Regions from separate parts of the Homo sapiens genome. Here region 2 is linked to region 1. The links are contacts of gene promoters, found by promoter capture Hi-C in blood cells and fetal thymus (Javierre and others, 2016). All regions are on one chromosome and are shown on one strand. Each heading gives the region's core, a stretch centred on a gene start or on the middle of the fragment in contact. The rest is flanking DNA. Distances are from core to core; before and after follow the strand shown. Region 1 holds the start of ACBD5 (acyl-CoA binding domain containing 5). Region 2 overlaps PDSS1 (decaprenyl diphosphate synthase subunit 1).

Region 1 (4,321 bases), core at 1,815-4,314:
GCCTCAACCTCCCGAGTAGCTGGGATTACAGGAACTCGCCACTACACTCAGCTAATTTTTGTATTTTTAGTAGAAGTGGGGTTTCACCATGTTGGCCAGGCTGGTCTGGAATTCCTGATCTCAGGGCCTGCCTCGATCTCCCAAAGTGCTGGGATTACAGGTGTGAGCCACCACGCCTGGCCTGATAGGGTATCTTTTTTTTTAAATTTAATTTAATTTAATTTTATTTTATTTTTTCGGAGACGGAGTCTGGCTCTGTCACCCAGGCTGGGGTGTGATCTAGGCTCACTGCAAGCTCCGCCTCCCGGGTTCACGCCATTCTCCTGCCTCAGCCTCCCGAGTAGGTGGGACTACAGGCGCCCACGACCACGCCTGGCTAATTTTTTGTATTTTTAGTAGAGACGGGGTTTCACCGTATTAGCCAGGATGGTCTCAATCTCCTGACCTTGTGATCCGCCAGCCCCGTGATCAGCCCGCCTCAGCATCAGCCTGCCTCGGCCTCCCACAGTGCTGGGATTACAGGCGTGAGCCACCGCACCCGGCCGATAGGGTATGTTAACTTTGCAATACTTTCTTAAATGTTATGTACATACAAACTGTACTTTATACAGGTTTCCTAATAAGTGGTACATAATGTCAACAGGCATAGTGGCCTAGAGACATCAGTCTAGCTTTACCAATTTTCAAAAAACTATAAAAACGTGTGCTTTAGAAGAAAGTATAAACATACTACTTACATAAAACTCTTAGAATCATACCTTTCTATAAACACTAATAATTAGGGACTTAAAAAATCAATACCTAAATAAGTTCATGCTTTTTTTTATATTTTATTTGTTCTTTCTTATCTTTCAGTCCCCCATATGCCCTCCTCCAATAGAATGTTTGAAATTACAAAAGGTTCAGACAACACCATAGAAGGAAAGAAATTACAAATGGAACACTATTTTGTGTATATTTGTTTTTAAAAATTTCTGAATCTGCATTTAATGAATTTTTATTGAATGATGTGTTGAATATTTGTTACCTATAATTATTGAAATTATTGATAATTAATGATAATTAATGAAAACAGAAATCATGATATTAAATACTATAGTAACATATTATTGTTGTATTCAGTTAGTTTTACAACTGTGGCACAGTAGTAGCACCTATAATTACTTTCTAAATATGTTTATTGGGCCGGGCGCGGTGGCTCATGCCTGTAATCCCAGCACTTTGGGTGGCCCAGGAGGGCAGATCACCTGAGGTCGGGAGTTCAATACCAGCCTGACCAACATGGAGAAACCCCGTCTCTACTAAAAATACAAAATTAGCCGGGCATGGTGACGCACGGGTGTAATCCCAGCTGCTGGGTAAGCTGAGGCAGAAGAATCGCTTGAACCTGGGAGGTGGGGGTTGAGGTGAGCTGAGATTGTACCATTGCACTTCAGCCTGGGCAACAAGAGCGGAACTCCATCTCTAAAGAAATAAATATGTTTATTGTGAAATATAATTCATATAATGTAGAAAGATATGAATTGAAAAGTACGTCTTGCTTCTAAGACTCTGCATTTAGAACAGAGAAAAATATTTAATGGCCAAAAACTTCACATTGGTCTATGACATAAAATTACAAATTCAAAAAGCTCTGCAAATCGTGAACAGGGTTAATATGAAGAAAAACCACATCTACTAGTCAAATTGCTGAAAACCGAAGATAGAAAAGAAATCTAAAAAGCAGCCAGAGAAATAGCACATTAAATACAAGAAGGAGATCAGCCACTGGAATGACTTTTTTCTCACCAGCTGCAAAGAAGGTCCAATATGAGTATAAAAAAGAACATTATACAATGGAATAGCAAATAAAAAGGTAGAAAATATATATTTATTAAAATAGAAATTACTTCACAATTGACTATAGTTATTCTTTCTTTTCTGTCCCTTCATATCAAAAGTTTTCAAAACGCTTAAGCTGGTAGACCCTATGAGTGTGTGGCATTAGGCATCCCCAGCCTAGATTTTTGTTTGTTTGTTTGTTTGTTTGTTTGAGATGGAGTCTGGCTCTGTCGCCCAGGCTGGAGTGCAGTGGCACGATATCGGGTCACTGCAACCTCTGCCTCCCGGGTTCAAGCAATTTCCCTGTCTCAGCCTCCCGAGTAGCTGGGACTACAGGCGCACGCCACGAAGCCTGGCTAATTTTCGTATTTTTTAGTAGAGACGGGGTTTCACCATATTGGTCAGGCTGGTCTTGAACTCCTGACCTCAGGTGATCCATCCACCTCGGCCTCCCAAAGTGTTGGGATTACAGGCTTGAGCCACCGCGCCCGGCCCGGATTTATTTTTTAACACACCCAAATCCGCAGTCATTAAGTGACAAGACTTTTGTTTTCAACAATATGAAGTACTTAAAATCTGGATATTAGATTTTTCTCCGGTTTGGAAGATCAAAAGGTAATTAATTCATATTCAATAGCTCCCCTTCCACTACATGGCTCCTACACAGAAAAAAAGGCTAAATAAACAACACTAGAACCAGAAAGTGAAAGGGGGCTTTGGGGCTCTCTGCAGGAGGCGTCTACAGCCGGGGCCCAGCGCACGTACCATTCTTCGGCAAACTCTGGATCACCTTCACGGCCGCCTCAAACCTAGTCTCGTGCACGGATCTCGTGTCCGCCATCTCCAGCTGCCAGTGTTGGCCCCGGTCCCAAGGTCTGTCGGCGGGAATCAGGCAGCAGCAGCACCAGCTTTCCCAAGAGCCTGCATGAAACTGGAACATGGAGCGCAGCCGCGGATCAACATGCCCCAAAAGGAGGAGGCCCGGGAGCGAAGCGGGTCAGTTCCCCTTTGCCCTGCCCTATCCAGGCCACACAGATCGAAGCGGCCCGGCTCCTTCCTCCTCCCCCGGGGCGTGACTAAGGCCACGAATCCGGCCCGCGACGACAGCAAAACAACTCACCGAGAGGAAGAGCATGTCTAGCAGAAGACAGAGGGGGTCCGGGCATCGGTGGCCGCGGAGCCGCTCTCCCACCCTGGGGACCCTGGCGGAGCAGCCACACCCCCCATTCCGCCGGAGTCCGTCTGTCAGTCCGTGCCCTCCCCACAGCCCCGCCCCAGAGTCACCGGAGGACCCACTGGCGCCGCCGCCGCCGCAGCAGCAGTGCAGCAAACCCCACCCACCCGACCCGCCGCCGCGGCAAGGACGCGCGCGGTCCGTCTGTCCCCAGAGGAGGGTCCGGGAAGCGGGGAAAGGGGGCCACAGTCCCGGCTTGGTGCGGGGAGCACACTGTGCGCGCTTTTGTTCAGAAGGGGGAAACCGAGGCCGGACCGATGTGTCCGCTCTGGCAGCCGGGTGGACGAAGTGCGCGCTGGGGATGCGCGGTTGGGTTCTGCACCTGGGCCCAAAGCTGCACGCGACGGCACCGCTGGGCAACAAAAATGACTCTGCGGTCCCCAGCGCCTGCACTCTCCTAAGTTAAGGTTTGAGGAAGTTAAATGGGGCCTAAGCAAAGGGCTTTAAGTCGGGACAGGTTCTGTGAGAAACTCCAGTTCTGCCATTTAAATTATGTGACCTAGGGCAAGTCACTTAGCCTTTCCAGTGGCAATCGTGACACCCACTCTAAAGGGTAGATGGAGAAAAGCATTGGGGACCTTGGATGGAGGTGCTCAGCAGTCCCTGGCCCGCAGGTCTTCGACAGTTTTCGCTGCCCTGAGCCAAGAACGTCCGAGGAGCAGCCGAAGGAGAGAGGAGGTCGCCGGCTCCTAAACTGGGCTGGGACGGAGGGCAACTTCCCCTACACTACCCTTTCCACCCAGCCCCAGGGAGCCAGGCACCTCCAGCGGGATTTAATAGGAGACTGGGCATGGGGACGGCCGGGCACAGTGGCTCACGCCTGTAATCTCGATACTTTGAGAGGTCGAGTGGGGAGGATTGCTTGAGGCCAGGAGTTCAAGACGAGCCTGGCAACATGGCGATACCCTGGCTCTATTTAAGAAACCAATAATTAAAAAAAAAAATAAAAATAGGATACTGGGCGTAGAGGGCGGGGCCAATGAGGAGTCTTTACGGGTCGTCAACCCTAGAAAGGGGGTGCCCTGGGCCTTCAACTTACTAGCGCAACCCCCTGCGTCCTTAGGCATTTGGGAAGTGCCCCAGGCCGAACGTTGGTGGTGGGACTGACTAGGTTGTGGGGGGTGGAGTCCTGTAGCCCGGAAATCCCAAAGTCTCCCGGATGGAAGAGTCGTTTTTGTCAGTTAGGGGGATGGGTTAGGAGGGTTACTAGGAAAAATCTAGGCGCAGATCGTAAGTTACTCTTCCCTCTGAGCCGCGGCGCCGGCA
Region 2 (4,219 bases), core at 1,633-4,132, 520 kb before region 1:
ACAATAAGTACCTAAATAGTTATGTTAAAAATTCTGTGAACTCTAGCCTTTATGACTAATTACTACAGAATGTAACACTTACGGCTGGGTGTGGTGGCTCACGCCTGTAATCCTAGCACTTTGGGAGGCCGAGGCAGTTGGATCACTTGGGGCCAGGAGTTCGAGACCAGCCTGGCCAACATGGTGAAACCCCATCTCTAGTAAAAATACAAAAATACCTGGGCGTGGTGGTGTACGCTTGTAGTCCCAGCTACTCATGAGGCTGAGGTGGGGGGATTGCTTGAACCCAGGAGGAAGAGTCTGCAGTGAGCCGAGGTCATGCCACTGTACTCAAGCCTGGGCAACAGAGCAAGACTCTTTCTCAAAAAAAAAAAAAAGAATGTAATATATATCTTTAAATATGCAAATTAATGTGATATATAGGGTGTATTTGGTTATAGCATATAATTCAACTATTTATGCAGTAGTTTATAACTAGTTGCTAATACAGTGTAGACATCCATCACAGTCTAAAGAAGACTGGAAATATGTTGATTGCTTAGTGTTCAATGGAAAAACTTTTTTTTTTTTTTGTCTAGGAATGAGGGGCAGTGTCACATAGTACAAAAAGCATTTCACTTGGAGCCAAAATTCTTTGGTTTAATTTTTATTGAAAATAACATGTATCGTGCCATGCTCTGGGGTGTGCTCAGTACTAGCTGAGATGATTCCTAGTCTGAGCTCCCACTCCACTCCACCCTCCCCACTGCCCTGGGAGCATAGAGACTAGAGCATCACTGACTGGTACGCAAGGTGTGATGGTCGCAGCATGCATGGGTGTTGTACACGCACAAAAGGGAGGCATCTGACCAGACTGAGGGATCGGGGGGAACTTCTTAGAGGTGGCATCTGAACCAATTATGCAAATAAGTCCACTCAGTGAAGAAGGGGGCAGAACTTTTTGAGCAGAAGGAACAGTAAGTGGAAAGGCACAAAGGAAGAATGAACATCCAGTGTAGTGAAACTGAAGGCAGCTGCATTTTGGTGGGGCTGGTGAGTGAAGCTGCTCTCCCTCTCCAGGCATTGATTTCTTCAGGTGTCAACTGGGGAGATGGACATGGTCATCTCTGAGAGCCAATACAGTTCAAGTACTGTCCCAAATCTGTAACCGATTATTAGAAACTGGGAAGAGTGACATGGTCATCTCTGAGAGCCAGTCCAGTTCAAACACTGTCCCAAATCTGTAACTGATTATTACGAACTGGGAAGTGACATGGTCATCTCTGAGAGCCAGTCCAGTTCAAACACTGTTCCAAATCTGTAACTGATTGTTACGGACTCCTGTTGAGGAAGAAGAAGGTAAAAAACCCTGCATCCAAGATGAGCCCCCACTTCCACGAAGCTCCCTTCCAGTCAGTTTCATCATTGGCTCTACTGCTCTGATGGATTTTTCAGAACGTTCTGTTTTCCCCCTGTCTTTTTCTAGGCTGTTCTTGCTGGAGATTTAATTCTTTCTGCAGCATCTATAGCTCTGGCACGAATTGGAAATACAACTGTTATATCTATTTTAACCCAAGTTATTGAAGATTTGGTGCGTGGTACGTTGATTCTGATTTTTCTTCTTTGTTATTCAACCCTGGTGTTTAGCCAGGCAATAAAGCCACCTCTCAAATGACTCCTTTCCTTCTTTATAGGTGAATTTCTTCAGCTCGGGTCAAAAGAAAATGAGAATGAAAGATTTGCACACTACCTTGAGAAGACATTCAAGAAGACCGCCAGCCTGATAGCCAACAGTTGTAAAGCAGTATGTACGTTCTGTCTTTCTTCAAGTTAAAGCCTCATAGCTCTTTTTTGGGAGCTAATTTTCCTAGAAAATATTTCGGTGAAGAATCTTAAAATAGTACCCAAAAATCCCAAGAGGTTAATGAGGAAAAGAATGACATCCCCAAACAATAGAGGACTTCTGCTGTGTTTTCATTTTTGCCATCTTCTTTTGGTATGCAGGCGTTGACTTTTCATCTTTTCTTCCCAAGAATTCAATCAAAATAAGCTTTCCCGCACCTTCCCCAATCTGATTGCCAAACTGTATCATTTTGAACAATTTATCATAATTTCTCTAATGATTGATATCACACACACTCTTTCTGACACTTCACCTTTTAGAAATGAAGTGCTCTGTTCTTTAATATAATATTTACTCAGGAAAAGATATCTGTTAGATTGTACTAGCATTCTATGAACTTTTTTTTGTTTTTTTGTTTTTTGTGTTTTTTTGAGACAGAGTCTTTTGCTGTGTGGCCCAGGCTACAAAGCAGTGGTGTGATCTTGGCTCACTACAACCTCCACCTCCCAGGTTCAGGCAATTCTCCTGCCTCAGCTTCCCTAGTAGCTGGGACCACAGGTGTGCGCCATCACACCCAGCTAATTTTTGTATTTTTCATAGGGATGGGGGTTTGCCATGTTGGCCGGGCTGGTCTCAAACTCCTGCCCTCAAGTGATCCACCCACCTTGGCCCTGCAAAGTACTGGGATTACAGGCATGAGCCATTGCACCTGGCCAATACATTGCACCTGGCCAATCCTTCTAATATTTTTACATGAAATATAAACAAGTCCTATTTCTTCAGAGTACAAATTGAGTATAAGCCATAACTGTTTTTCCCCTTGCTTTCTCCCTCCCTCCGCTGTGCATACACATGTATACATTTTTTTTTTAATGAGTAATACCTTTAATCCGTAGACAAATGTGTGGTATTCATCGTTAGTCCAAGAATGAAAAGCAGTCTCTCCATAGAATTGTTTATCTGCCCATCTCTAAGCCTGACAGATACACAGAGACAAAACCTGGACAAATGACATTCCCATGTAATTACAGCCACAAAATAAGGAAGACCTGTAAGGGTCGCATGTCAATTGCTGTCATGATAGACTCCTAACATAATTAACAGGTAAAGAGAGCTTTTGCTCAGACCTCTCAGATGAAAAAGTCTCTTGCTGTTAGTGTCTCTGTTTTGAAAAGTGTCAAGAAATGTATAATTGCAAGGCAGAAAAGAATGAGGACAATCTTTTCTTCCTAAAAAGACCTAATAGAAACTTTAAGGAATGTGAATTATGTAGAACATGCTAGCCACAGTCTCGACCACTTTTGTCTTTTTATTAAAAGGGCTATTATGTTTTTATTTCCAAGAAATTATGTGGGTTTTTTTTTTAAAGTGAGATGGAAGAAAGTATAGACACGAGATGCTAAATAAGAGAATAGCCTATTTTAAGTGGGTGCTCTAACACTTTTACAGTAATCCTTTACATATTATCATGCCCTTGATGGCCCAACTCTCCCTGAAGGTCAGGATCCATCCTCTTAACACATTAGGGTGCCTTAATATTACTTACTAATATTTATCCTTAAGAGGATGTGTTAAGTGAGGCTCATTGATAATTTCACAATTTGAGACTGCAAACTTAGAAGCATTAGCATGGTCAGGCAAGGTGGCTCACACCTGTAATCCCAGCATTTAGGGAGACTGAGGCGGAAGGTTTGCTTGTGACCAGAAGTTCAAGACCAACCTAGGCAACATAGCAAGATCCCCATCTCTACTTAAAAATAATGTTTAAAAAATAAAGTCTTAGAAGCATTAGTAGTAGTGAGACTATTGGAATTGGAAACACCAAGACTTACTGTCTGCACCATGCAGACATCCTGCAGGCACGGGGTGGGGCGGCACCAAATTGGAGCTAGCACAGAAATTCACTCAGTGATGGAAGCTTACAAAGGGTCCAAAGAAATGGACCTGAGTCATGATAGAGAGGTTTCCTTGTGGTCACTGTTTTCTGTTTAAGAAGCCAAAGATAATGCACAGGAATTCTTTTATAAAGATATGCACCTCATTCTTCAAAGATTAGCAGCTGAACGAACAGTGAACATGTTAACGTGGCTGGACCCTTATTAAAAATGAAATGTTTCATGCTGCCCACTAGGGGGCATGCTGGCATCGTCCCAGCACTACCTCCTTTTCATGTGGTTTATTCCTAAACTCCACAGCTCTTAGAATAATAAAGCAAAATGATAGTGTGAGCTATTTGAATAAAAGTTTCTATATTTAAGTGCCTATGGGTGGAAATATTCCAGAGGTGTTATGGATTCAAAATGGCTATTTTTACGTACTCTTGGTATTTAAAATGCAAAGCCATGCGAGCTCCAAATAAATGCATGCAAAGCAAATTAGACACACCAAAAAGAGGGG

What was found. Contacts are between HindIII fragments. The CHiCAGO score rates a contact against its expected background, and 5 or more counts as called.
Region 2: a contact is called between a fragment that was not itself captured here and the fragment with the promoter of ACBD5 in region 1, in 1 of 17 cell types (neutrophils). The highest score is 5.8, in neutrophils.

Annotation. Positions count from the first base shown.
Region 1 is chr10:27,237,733-27,242,053 of GRCh38, forward strand. It overlaps ACBD5 (acyl-CoA binding domain containing 5), which reads right to left and starts at 3,065. Exons shown (of 13, transcript NM_145698.5): 1 at 2,942-3,065; 2 at 2,587-2,752. The coding sequence starts at 2,956. RefSeq lists enhancers at 2,117-2,619, 2,577-2,836, 4,287-4,321 and a silencer at 2,957-3,066. The HindIII fragment of the contact is 10,066 bases long and covers 1-4,321 here.
Region 2 is chr10:26,722,341-26,726,559 of GRCh38, forward strand. PDSS1 (decaprenyl diphosphate synthase subunit 1) reads left to right here. Exons shown (of 12, transcript NM_014317.5): 7 at 1,466-1,577; 8 at 1,674-1,783. Among named protein-coding and RNA genes, the nearest start is that of PDSS1, 27 kb to the left of the region's middle. The HindIII fragment of the contact is 1,711 bases long and covers 2,028-3,738 here.